Regions from separate parts of the Homo sapiens genome. Here regions 2, 3 and 4 are each linked to region 1. Evidence: promoter capture Hi-C in 16 types of primary human blood cells and fetal thymus (Javierre and others, 2016). All regions are on one chromosome and are shown on one strand. The core of a region is centred on a gene start or on the middle of the fragment in contact, and the rest is flanking DNA. Distances in the headings are between cores, read along the strand shown. Region 1 holds the start of TRMT11 (tRNA methyltransferase 11). Region 2 overlaps LOC105377989 (a long non-coding RNA gene). Region 3 overlaps RSPO3 (R-spondin 3). Region 4 overlaps RSPO3 (R-spondin 3).

Region 1 (3,340 bases), core at 232-2,731:
TTCTGTCCCAACCTTGGCCTCTCTTCTCAAATAGTAAACAACTTTTCTTGTCTCAAAGTACTTTTACCCCCTTTTCTGAAGTTTTGGGGTCAAGAGACAGCTATGCTTCTCAGAGTCACTTAGCACAAGTGAACTTGAGACATATTCCTAACAAAAACAGATCTCTTGCTAACAAAAATTCTCATGTGATTTTCTTAAGAAAAATGTCAAGTGCCACTTATTGGCCCCATTCAATATGCCAGATGTTATATTCAACACTTTATGAACATTATTCCACTTAATCCTTGTAACAATCCTTTGCAGGAGGCAGTGTGTTTTTCCATTTTTAAAAGAAAACTCAAGCTCGGAGAGGTTAAGAGCATATACATGGTAAATGGTGGAAGTGAGGTTTGAATCTAATATTGACACCACAGCCTATGTTCTTAATCACTACCACTGCGCATCAACTACGTTTCTGGCACATGCCGCTGGGGATATGCCAGATACATACTCTTTTGCACCTTGTACAATACCACAGAGAAATGCAAAATAAATAATTTTTAATAGGGCAAAGGGCTCGGTACTCTCAAAAGCAGAAATAGCCCAGAGGGAGGGCTTGAGCCCGTAATTCTAGCACTTTGGGAGACTAGGGTAGGAGTATCCCCTGAGACCAGGAGTTCAAGGTTACAGTGAGCTATGATTGCGCCACTGCACTCACCTGGGTGACAGAGCAAGATTGTCTTAAAAAAAAAAAGTCACATATATACATAGAATATGCAATTAAAATATATTTCATAAACTATCTGCTATGAAATCTGTGCCAGTGTGAGCTTTCTCCAAGTTTTAATTTATGGCTGGCTGTGGATTTAGTCCTGAGTCTAACAAATAACACAACCTAATAATTATTGCCTACTTTGAGGAAGATATTCTTTTGGTTTTTGTTAAGAATAGAGTGAACCATAAAAGATTATATCAGACCTCAAGAGTTTATTATAATTGGGTTATAAGGCATGTGCTCTCGAAAAGTTGTTACATAAATACGAAAAATATACTGTTAAATGACTGGCCCAACTAAATCAGTTCCCAAAGCTGTGCTGGTTAGACAAACCTACAAGGAAATGGTGAAATTTCCAAGGAAATGGTGAAATTTCAGTCCAATTTTGAAGAACAGGTTTTGAAGGGCTGTAGAGAAAGCTGGAAGCACACTCCAAGTGGAACGATAACTTGGAAATATACTGTCTTATTATCACAGGCTGCTCCTGAAAGCCACGCGTCCCCGCTCACCAGCTACCAGCGCTGGGAGACCCCTAACCACCAGGCATTCACAGGTGAGGAAGCCCCTCCCACAGCGGCCGGAGTTTCGGACTCGGAGCGCGAGAAACGTCGGGATAGCGCCTGCCTCGCAGAGCTTCCGCTTCCGGCCCTTCAGGCTCTGTCTCTGTGGAGACTGGGCTTTGGGAGGGAGAAAGAGGGACCTAGCGCGGGCCGCGCAGGCGCACGGTGGGCAGCTGCAATGGCGCTGTCGTGTACCCTTAACAGGTATCTGCTCCTCATGGCGCAGGAGCATCTGGAGTTCCGCCTGCCGGTGAGTCCGTAGCGCCCTCCGGAACTTCCGACGGAAGAGGACGCTGGAGTGGAGTGGAGTGGGTGGAGGTGATCTGCATAGCCCGAGGAAGCTGGGATTCGGGGGTCTTCGCTGGTCTGCGCGGGTCACGCGTCCCCAGTCCTCGGGCGGGGTGAGCTTGGCGGAGGGTGTGTGTGAGAGAAGTCCGAGACCAAACCCCTCGGCCTGCTTAAACTTTTCATTCTTTTGCCCGTGTATCAAGTACCGGAGTTAGGCAGGTGAATATGACCGGTCATCTCACTCCCGGAGCTCTTCGTCTAGCGGAGAATAGAGACAGCTAACAAATGCTCAGGCTGGTGTTTGAAGTATTGGAATCTGCGGATCAAGCTCAGTGGAGGGGATGGTGGTGGGGATTAGATGATGGAGAAGTTGAGAAGAGTGTTTTATTTATTCAAGAAACGTTTTCAGAATGCATGTAGTCGAAGATCGGTACGCTGGGCATGTAACGATGATGTAAGCAATCTCTGCCCTCTAGGAGCTTACTGTTTAGAGTAAGGGCTGAGCAGACACATAGGCGTAGAATGACAAAAGAGCGTCGGTAAGTGCAGTGATAGATGCACATGGAAATATGAGAGCACGTGGAAGGGAAATCTAATCTACCTGAGGGGTTGGGGATGTTGGCCTTTAAGAGGGCTTCCAGAGGAGATGACACTTGAAATAAAGGATGAATAGGAGTTAGAGGGCCAAGGAGATAAATCAGTAAATTAGAATTACAAGGTGTTCATTATTACTGGATCACTAGTTATGTGGCAGAGTGGTAAGAAGAGAGCAAGGGAAGTAGATCGAGGCCAGAAAATGAAAACCTTGAGTACCCTGGAGCTTGGAAGGGGGATTTATTGAAAAGCCTTAAGTAAAAAAGTGACCACAAAATTAAATCAGTTTGACAACACTATGGAGGATGGATTTGAAAAGAATAAGACTTGAGCCAGAGACTAGGAGTCTGTGGGAATAGTCTTGTTAATAGATTAAGAAGGTCTGACCTAGGGCAAGGAGTAAGAGGATGGGATAGACTGGGAAAATATTTAGGCCATACAGTCATTAAGGCTGGATTGATTGAATATGTGGGAAAGGGGCACCAGTCAGGTATGACTCCTGGGGTGTATATAGGTAGGAGTGTCTCCATTTAAAATAGAGAACATAGGCAGATGTAAGATTTAAATTTTGTTTACACTGAATTTGATGTGGTTGTGTAACATCAACCTGAGATGACCAAGAGGCGGTGGATATATGAATATGCATAGAGTATGGCAGAGTGATCTGGACTAGTGATAAATATTTGGGAGTCTTCTTCATATGAAAACTAGGAGCGGGGAAGAAATTACTCAAAGGATAAGGTCAAAAGAGTAGCGGGCCAAGTATAGATGCTTGGAAGCATTGATATTAAGGGAAAGTCGGAGGAGGCCATGAAGAAGATGGGCAAGTGCCAGAAGGATGTGAGACCGCAGAAATCAGAAGGGTAAAGTTTTAGGAAGCAGGGACAAATGGATAAATGTCGAATGCAGTTGCTTTTTAGTGAGAAAAGAATGAAAAAGTGTCATTGATAGTCTCAATTAGAAGATAATTAATTGGTGATTTTTGCTAAAGCGAATATGTTGAGTTTTAGTAGGAGAAGCCAGGTGGCTTGGTTTAGTAATCACTGGAAAGTGAGGAAGGGGAGATAGGATAGACTGAGTGTCCTTAGCTAGAGCATAAGGGAAAGTAAGAAATTGGTTAACAGTTTGAAGAGGACCTAGGGTG
Region 2 (3,372 bases), core at 682-3,181, 1.1 Mb after region 1:
AAGGTGAAACTCTGTCTCTACTAAAAATACAAAAATTAGCTGGGTGCGGTGGTGCGTGCCTGTAATCCCAGCTACTCGGGAGACTGAGGCAGGAGAATCACTTGAACCTGGGAGGCAGAGGTTGCAGTGAGCCGAGATTGTGCCATTGCACTCCAGCCTGGGCAACAGAGCAAGACTCCATCTCAAAAAAAAAAAGTGACAAGGAGAGGCATGGAAATGCAATCTCTACACGTGTCCAGAAAACAGATTGAGGAGAGACAGAACGATTTGCTGAACAGCCCCATGGCTACCACACAATGCCATGCCAGGGCCAACACTGCAGGGAAAACTTTTTTGAGCACTTTTCACCCATACTTGACAGTTGTGCAAGATGTCTCTGGCCCCTGGCAGATCTGCCTTTGAACAATTACATTAGTTTCTACCAGCACAGGGGTGATTTTAGTTCATCTTCTACCTTTGATTATTAGTTCTCTGTGAACACTTTACACAAGGCCCTAAAGGTGCATAATAATTCTACTCCTTCTATGAATGATCAATTGTCAAGAGTAGACTAGAGTCTGATTTCTTTGCCCAACACTCCCACTCTTTCCTCCAGTTCCAGAAAGGTTCTTCACTTCCTCTTCCTTCTGACAAGGACACTTTTTACAGTCCTGATTCCTCACTACACTGTGGCTTTCAGTGAAACTGCATATTTGGAACCAAAACTTTGCTGGTATATATAAAGGAAACTTGGAGTTTAGAAATCTCTTTCTCTCAGCAAATCCATGGCAAGACTAACTACTGGGGATTCAAGGAAGGCAGCTCTGAGACTCAAAGCACAATAGTGAAATTGTGGTCTAGGAGTTATCTCCCCTTACCCCAAACAATGAATGACCTTGATTCAATAGGTAGAGAATAACTGTAAGGCAACATAATTTTCAGTGAATGAAAAATATGTCCACTTAACATTTTAAAAACGAACACCTGCAAATTAATCAATCTAGAATATTAAACTTCAGGGCTATATATTAAATAAAACATTTTTATTAGGTGGTTACTCTTTTAAAAAGAAGGTAACATAAGTACTAGTATCCAATCAAACGTGTCTATGTTGTCACTGAAGTTTCTCTCAAAGAGGCATTTAGAAGATGGTCATGCAGAGAAAATACTTTCATACAGTCCTCACTAACAGGTATGCGTATAGGAGCAATTTTGAAAACAGTTAATTTTTCAAAGAAAATGAGTAAAAAGAAACTATATGCATTTTGCCCCACATCCTTGCATTCCATAATATATACTCACCCACTTTCCATCTTTGGGGCATGTTCTGGGTAATTTTTCTTCCTTCCTATCTCATGTCAAATATCAGGTGAATTTATGTCATTGTTTTGAGAACAATTTATGTATAATATTTTATGCAATCTCCTCCTATGTTTAGGAGGTTGCCATAATGTGTCAAATGTAGATTTTTCTTAATACTTCATAAAACTATCTCTAGAAAACTAAGTGCATCCTTTTACTAAGTTCATCCCTAGCACACTCACACAGCTCCTTTTGCTGCTGCTTTTTCTTGCAGCTTCTGCTTCTGCACTCACTTTTCCACCTCCCTTAGTTACTCGGTGTCCTTATCAGACACAGGTCTCCCTCATACTCACACTTCATAATGCCCCTGAACAGGTCAGACCCTCTCTCCTTGTCAAATTTCAGAGATGTGTTCAGAAGGAAACAATCTAACTAAAATAATTCACCCATTCTTAACTTTCTTGGGAATATTTGCATTTAAAATAAATTTCTAATTGTGATGATTTCAAGTAGTATACATAACGATGTGAATAATTTTAACAATGCTAAAAAATAAGTAGAGGAAAAATACAAATGTACATGAACAGAGGGAAAGCAAGCTACACATACAAACATAATTATTTGAAGAAGAAATCCTCAAGGCATTAGTTGTCTATTAGAAACCAGGCTGTCCTTGAATATCTAGTATACCAGTTCTTTTGGGCTGCCACAACAAAATACTTTAGATTGAGTAATTTATAAAACAACATAAATGTATTTGTTACAGTTCTGGAGGCTGGGAAGTCCAAGATCAAGGTGTCAGCAGAGTCATTGTCTGCTGAGAGCTTGCTCTCTGCTTCAAAGATGGCACCTCCTTGCTATGTCTTCACATGGAACAATGGGCAAAGGGAGCTTCCTGGAGCCACTTTTATAAGGGCATGAATCCAATTTATAAGAGTGGAGCCTTCATTACTTAATCACCTCCCCAAAGGCCCTACCTCTAAAAAATACAATCACATTAGAGATTAAGTTTCAATATATAAATTTGGCAGAGAGCACATTCGAACCATAGTACAGTGTATTTTTTTAAAAACACAAAAGACACCATATTGTATATAACTTACAATGTTACTTTAAAAAAGTATTGATTCTTATGATCATAATGGTGAAAATTCACCAAAAACTCATGAAAACCCAATATATCATTCCTAACTAAATCAGAGAATCAAGTCACAATGAGGAAATAAATCCATTAGTTAAATTGCCTCCTTTCCTAAACACTTAAGGTAAATCTATGTTGTAGGGCAAAATGATTGTACCTCATGTCATTAAATCTCAGAATTATGGAATTTAATGAGATAGTGCTTCATGTTTCTATGCACTAAAATGATAAGTTCTGCTGCCATTTTTAGTAGACAAAAGGAAGGCCTCCTGGTAAGGAGGCATTTTCACAGGATTCTTTTCAATGAGAAGATGTCTATATTATATTCACAAACCTTAAGTAATACTATCCTAGCTCTTAAGACAAGAGAAAAGGGAAGGAAATAACAGGCTGAAGAAAAACACTTGTGACTTCCCCCAAAATGAGAACATTGAAAAGATTTTTCTCTGAGTTCCAAACCATAATTGCTTCTTATTTATGTACCCAAAGCTGAAAATTTGTCCCACCAATGGCCTGGACCTTTGTACTGCTTTGATTTTGTGAGGCTTCAAGTATAGAATTAAAACTCAATTCAGAGAAAGAACTGATCTAGAACCAGACACTCTGTATAGGTGGTCAGATAGGGTATATGGTAAACCTCAGTTTTGCTTTCTTGCTTCAATTAGGTATCAACTTTCTGACTGGCCAAAGAGCTCCACATTTGGCTTTATACAGAGGTTAATAACCTGCCCATTAGCTCTGGGGTGGATTTAAAATAGCCTACAATTCTTTGCAGTTCCTCCTATCAAAAGATAAAGTCTATTGGGTAAATTCTGGAATCTAGGCTGGTCTTTTGACTTGCTTTGGTCAAAAAACTGCAGTAGAAGTGACGCTTGTAGGGCTTCCAAGGGGCCTTGCAACTTCCTCTCTCACACTTCTGGAACCCAGAGAGCTCCACGCTCTTGAGATGT
Region 3 (3,000 bases), core at 305-2,804, 1.2 Mb after region 1:
ATTCCTTATATCTTCATTCCCCACTACTTATGCACCAGTTGCATCAAACTCATGCCAGTCTCCTTCCCAGCTTGGGTCACTGTAGTGTTTCCTTCTCTAGCCAAACATGGCCACTTACATACTCATAAACTCCAACTCATTTTCTAAGATTAAGTTCAAACACTGAGATTCTGTGAAACTTTCCCTACCTCTCCACCAACAACTTCAAATAATAGTAGGAAAATATTGTTTGAAAAAGGTGATTTAGAAATTCAAAATGAAGTTAATATTGAATGGGGAATAAAAAGAAAGACACATGAGAAAGTAAAATTCTATTTTCTGTCTCAGAATCACAAGATTTTATGGCTGAAAGTGTTGTTACAGTCAATATAGACCAAAGTTTTTTGTGGTTTCCATATAAAAAGTAAAATCTCTTGCCTTAAAATGAAGTTTGGGAAATTTGTACTTAGTTGTGTAATACTGACTGTGTAATTTGTATGATCCTTATACGGCATTCAAGAAAGCTGTCACTACACTACATAACCATAAAAAAAATCTAGACTCATTGAATCTGAGCTTCATAGTCTTCATTTCTCTCTCTTCCCACAGCCAGCATTTAAACCTTCCTGAAGAAATAAGGTTTGCCATCATTTGATATTCAAAATTCATTGCCATATTCAAAATTCACTGATTAAAACATAAAATTTTATTGCAAGTTGGGACAACTAGGTCTTTCTTGCTTTTTCAAAAATCAAATTTTTAAAAACCCTTGCCTAGGAAGTCATTATATGAAAAAAAAAAGGTAAAAAGAATTATTGTAGCACAATGTTGACTGTGCTCCATTTCATCAGTAAAAGTTTTAGAGACAGAGGGAATCAAGCAAGGTATTTTGGCACATCTCATAATTTCAGTGGATACAGTTACAATCATGAGACTTATTCAAAGCTCTCTCCTGAAGAACATTCCAAACATTCAAAACCTAGTTTTTAAAATAAAATTTATCTTAAGGAATGTCAGTTTTTGAAGCTCTGAATATGTAAATCATGTTTATATTAATAATTGATATATTTAAAATTATATCATAATTGGCAAAAGTTTCAGAATACATAAAATTAGAATTTTGTGTTTTCTTTCAGCAGCCACATTTCAGAGATAGGGATGGATTGGCATGGACCAATATGGTCCATCTTTCTTAAACCCAGAGTCTCTTAGTGCCCTGAGTTTGAAGCACTTTTCTTTCAAGTTGAGGTCCACTCTTCTATAGACAATTCTATGAAAAGGTCTTACAAGTTTTTATCTACACCTCTCGCTTCTTGAAATGGATAATGATAGATTCCAAACACATGGAAATCTCTTGCCCCTTTTACTTTTTAGGATCTTTGCAAGCTTACAATATGTACACGTTTTCTGTAAGTCACCAATGCTGAGTTACTGGCATGAAAAATGACCCTGTTACTTGGAAAGTAGTTTCACTTACAAGTCCCCCAGGCCCTGTAATGTCTAAACCTCCTGTGCCACTTTATGTGACTACCCCGCCCCCACAGAGGAGCATGCACAGGAAAAGCAGACTTCCCTTCCCCCACACATTTCCTTAGTTTATTTACAAAACGTCTTGGAATGAGAATGAGCTGCTTGTGGTTCCTGTGGCTGATTCAGGGATGGTTTCCTACAGGCAGAGGATGCTGGTCAACCGAATGACCTCTCTGTAACTAACCCGTGCACCCCTGTGGTAAGGCTGTTTGGTCTTATAGGTACCTCTTCTAACTAAGCTTGGAGGGATTTGTTTTTGTGGTAAAGAACTTAGTAATAACCAAACGTCACTGTAAAGACAGATTTAATAATGTTAAGGTCCATCAGAGCCTACTCCTTCTACTACCAACAAGAGAAGCCAGAAATACACTGGGATGCCTTTAGATTCCTGTGCATCAATCTTTCTTTCTCTAAGGATTATGGTTTTTTTTTCTTCTGGCATCTTCAAAGGACAATAAAGCTATTAGCAATATATTTGAGTGGAGAACACATTAGGAAAAGAAATCATCCTAAACACCAGCTATATGAGAAACATCCGTTAGTCAGTAGTTTTTACCAGCTCATGCAGAGGTGATGATGACTATTTAATAGTCAAAAGAAGATTTAAAGTTGTGATGATCTTAAGCAAACATGAGTCTCCCAAATATTCATTTCTGTTTGTTCAGACTTGCTAATGAACACTCTTAACTCACACACTGGTAACTCTTGGAAACCCTGGAATATGTGTAACAGTGATTCTTAAGGTAGACTGGTCCATTCTCACCAAATATACATTTCACTCGAGTAAGTAGAAGATAAGGGCACAGAAACTGTAAGACTCCAGTTCCAAAAGAGAAAATATTGAACATAAATTACCATAAGTAGTCATATATGATCCACATGGAAACACTGGTGAGATAAGCATCACATTTTCACCATTATATCTATTTGAACTGGCAATTATTAAGCTCGTGTGAGAAGAAATATTTAATGAAGGAATTCTGGGGAGCTCAACAGCTAACATAGCTTCAGCATCAGTTTGCATTGGATCAAAAAGTAAAATTGTGTTCTCTAATACACCATAGTTCAAAACAGATATAAAACTTAGTGTCCTTACTCAAGTTAAGCCCTAATGTACATTATTTTACTTACTGAAGAAATTAGAAACATATGCTTATCCTCCATTACATAAATGAAAAGCAAAGCAAATGTGTATTAATTTCACTGTGTAAATGAGCACAAAATTACCAGTCCCCAATCTCCCAGGGTGCTAGTTCAGTGAGGATATTATATATATGAAGAGAATATATATAATTAGTTATACATAATTTAAAAATATATATTATATGATAAAGAGACTATGTATACACACACATATATAAGTCCTTTGAGGCAGTATATTCTTTATTTTTCAAATGCTCAATTTTAAGAACTTTGAAATTAAAAACAATACATGTGCTAAAGGGAAATAAAAGATCATAAAAAAAGATAGGAAAAAAAATCCCACCTCAT
Region 4 (3,161 bases), core at 356-2,855, 1.1 Mb after region 1:
AGGCTCCTTAGTGTATGTTGGGAGAAGGTAGACTCAGAAGTTAAAGACCTGGGTTCCAGATCCAGCATTGCTGCTAATGCCTGAATAACCCAAGAAAGTCCTTTTACTATACCAAGCTAAAGTTTTTCATCTGCAAAATGAGGAGGTTGATCAAAAACTTAGATCTAGTGATCCCTACGGTTTCCTCAACATTTAATCTTTTGGTATGAGAATATAAGTCACAACTAGGGAGTTAAATAATAACTTGTCTTATTCAACTAAATTTAACAGATAAAGATTGAGTACAAACAAACATAAACATTCATTGATTATAAGTAAATTTATCACATAAAGGTTAACGAGTAAGTGATCAATGTGGATAATGAATTAATTATGATATACCTCATAATTCACATTTTTTATTGTCTGAAAACCATAGTCACAGCAACAATCAGCATACTCAGTCTACCCCATCTTGTCCTTAGGCTCAGGGTTAGGGAGCTGGATCAGAATACTGACTCAAGGGTCACTTCAGAGCTTCCCTAGCATGGCAGGCTTTCAGAGGTGGCCTGTAATTATGAGGAAGAGATGATTTACAATAGTCCAGGTTTAAGAAAATAAGGCCCTAGGCTACAACAGTGAATGACTGCACAAAAGAGTATATACAGCAGATAATTTCTTTTAATCAAATCAGTAGTTCTTGGCAATTAATTGCATATGAAAGGGAAAGAGATGGAGGCCCATATTTGGCAATAAACTTTGGAGTATAAGGACTCAGGTCTGGGTGAATGGAAAAATGATGACGATCAACAAAAAGAAAAATAGGAGAAGCAGGTCTTGTTGGAAATCTGTTTCTCTTTTGAGGAGCCAGTAGGACGTTTAGGAACTCAAAACTCAAAACACCTGGGATTAGAGTATTAGGGCTGAACACAAGTACTTCAGAGTCACTCACATAAAAATGATGTTTATTATTATCAAAAGTGTGTGCTCTCCTACTGATACGGGGGTGTAAAAAATGTGTGCTGTGATGACATTGAGACTCACTCTTCTTGGTAATGTCAAAATAACATTAATTACATTAAGGTACCTTGTCTATTTTAAGTAGTTTAATATATCATTTTCAACTGTGGTTTTTTATGGTTTTTATAATACTCTCTGTGTTACATAAGAGGATGGTCACTGGTATCATAAGCTGTAGTTGTTGTTGCCAAATCTTGCAGCTGAAAATTGCACTTAGAAGTCTTCTTACCTGTGGAACTTTGCCACAGATCATAAGGAGACCTGAAAAACTATGATAATGAAAGGCAAGTTTACATAAGGTATAAAAATAAAATTTTGAACCATTGAATTGGGTGCAGTATCTGTTCATCACTGTAGCGTTCTACTTTTAAGTAGATTTCTCTACAAAGTATGCTCTCTTAATATAAGAGAATCTCTGGAAGGGATAAAACTTGAAAGAATCCAGTCCATCTACACAGTGTGGGATCACTTCTACAACATCCCCACTGAGTAACTGTCTAGCCTCAGTAACAGTCAGCCCCCTAAGCTCTCCCCCTTTTTCCTCCTATTTTTAGGGCTTCTGTATCCAAAGCAGTTTATTCTCCTAGTCCTCTTCTTTGCACTTGGCATGGGCATGGTATTAGATCTAGTTACCTTAAAACACCTTTCTAAAATGAACACACAGTAACGCAATGTGCTACATTCACTCCCAAAAATTGTCCTTAGAAAACTAGCTGGTAAGCATATTTATAATTATACCCCAATACAAAGCACATTCCTGACAGTAAGTGGTAAAGCAGCCCCCATTTTATAACCACATAATACAAACCACTACCACACAATATAAAATAACAGAATTTGTGAGCTGCTTATTTTAGAACACTGTTTTCTTAACATATGCTCGATAAGTTGGTAAGAAAAACAGCAGTCCTTTCTCATTGTTTTTTGTTCCCCTGTTCTACAAAGAGACTTCAAAGGTAAGAACACTGTCATCTCAACAAAGGCTGTCATATATGCAAAGCAAATATCAATCACATTTTGCCAACAAGAAATAATATGCCAAAGTATGTGTAAGTGCTACATGGCAAACAACAGCTTTTTAGCTCTCAGAGCCACTGTTATATTTATGTACATCTTATCTAAATATGCATGTATACTTACTAAAGTGAGTATTATGATAATAGTTATTACTCAATAGCTCCCATGTTATAATCACCAGTAAGTGCCAGACCCTTTGCTTGATGCTTTTGCAAAAATTATCTCATTTGATCTTCATACCCACCTGTAAGGAATGTGCCAATAGTCCCACTTTCATTGATCACTCAAGGAATTGAGGTGGACCTCAGATTCCAGTCTAGGCTAGACTCCAAAGCCAAGGTCCTTCTTTGATTCTTCACTCCACCTTAACATTAGGGTTGGTACTTGAGGCAATCATGGTGCATTTTCTAAATTCCACCCACTCTTTCTTTCTCTTACTCTCTCTTCTTTCCTCCTTCTTTCTTTATCCTCATTTAACAAACCATAAGCCTTTTTTCAAACATTTACTATAAAGGTTGCTTCTGGTATTCAAGTACCCTCCTCTACATCGCTTTCTTTTCCTTACCCTTTGTCCTCTCTTTCCTTAAACCTGTCTTATTGATGAGTTTTAAACATAAAAGTTTGCTGATTTTTTCATTAAAAGCAATAGGATTGCACAGTTTATATGAAAGACTCTGTGATTGTTATTTCCATCTATGGTGCGCGTAACCAAGAAAAGATTAATGTAGGCATGAGAATGTTAGAAAAGTCTGTAATTTTGCAGTTAAAAATCAGAATCCTTCTATGTAATTTACAACCACAATAGATATTTTACTGGCTATTGTTATCCAGAAAAAGTTATCTTTATGGCACTTCATAAAGTCTGTTATTTATATTACTTTTACCATGAGCATTAACAGTAACCTCCACTCTGAATTCTTGCTTTATGGGTCTTGGTACAATAATTTTCCGCCCTGAGGTCACATTAGAATTTCCTGGGGATCTTTAAAAAGATACTAATGCCCAGACTCCACCCTTGAACAAATAAAACTATCTTCTCCACCCTTGAACAAATAACACAATCTTTGGGGATGGTACCTGAATATCTACATTGTTTAAAGTAGTTCTGGTGATTCTAATGTGCAGCCAAGACTGAGAAATATTGT

Evidence for each region. Contacts are between HindIII fragments. The CHiCAGO score rates a contact against its expected background, and 5 or more counts as called.
Region 2: a contact is called between a fragment that was not itself captured here and the fragment with the promoter of TRMT11 in region 1, in 4 of 17 cell types (M2 macrophages, M1 macrophages, M0 macrophages and 1 more). The highest score is 11.5, in M2 macrophages.
Region 3: a fragment that was not itself captured here is called in contact with the fragment with the promoter of TRMT11 in region 1 in 1 of 17 cell types (endothelial precursors); the score reaches 5.1 in endothelial precursors.
Region 4: a contact is called between a fragment that was not itself captured here and the fragment with the promoter of TRMT11 in region 1, in 8 of 17 cell types (monocytes, megakaryocytes, M1 macrophages and 5 more). The highest score is 10.3, in monocytes.

What each region holds. Positions count from the first base shown.
Region 1 is chr6:125,985,059-125,988,398 of GRCh38, forward strand. TRMT11 (tRNA methyltransferase 11) reads left to right here and starts at 1,482. Exons shown (of 13, transcript NM_001031712.3): 1 at 1,482-1,564. The coding sequence starts at 1,493. RefSeq lists enhancers at 705-1,535, 1,513-2,002, 1,536-2,365. The HindIII fragment of the contact is 7,229 bases long and covers 1-3,340 here.
Region 2 is chr6:127,107,501-127,110,872 of GRCh38, forward strand. The region is part of intron 4 of LOC105377989 (a long non-coding RNA gene); the gene reads right to left. Among named protein-coding and RNA genes, the nearest start is that of RSPO3, 9.5 kb to the right of the region's middle. The HindIII fragment of the contact is 5,877 bases long and covers 1-3,372 here.
Region 3 is chr6:127,145,530-127,148,529 of GRCh38, forward strand. The region is part of intron 1 of RSPO3 (R-spondin 3); the gene reads left to right. All of the region lies in intron 3 of LOC105377989 (a long non-coding RNA gene), which reads right to left. Among named protein-coding and RNA genes, the nearest start is that of RSPO3, 28 kb to the left of the region's middle. The HindIII fragment of the contact is 383 bases long and covers 1,364-1,746 here.
Region 4 is chr6:127,125,344-127,128,504 of GRCh38, forward strand. The region is part of intron 1 of RSPO3 (R-spondin 3); the gene reads left to right. The region is part of intron 3 of LOC105377989 (a long non-coding RNA gene); the gene reads right to left. Among named protein-coding and RNA genes, the nearest start is that of RSPO3, 8.3 kb to the left of the region's middle. The HindIII fragment of the contact is 6,341 bases long and covers 1-3,161 here.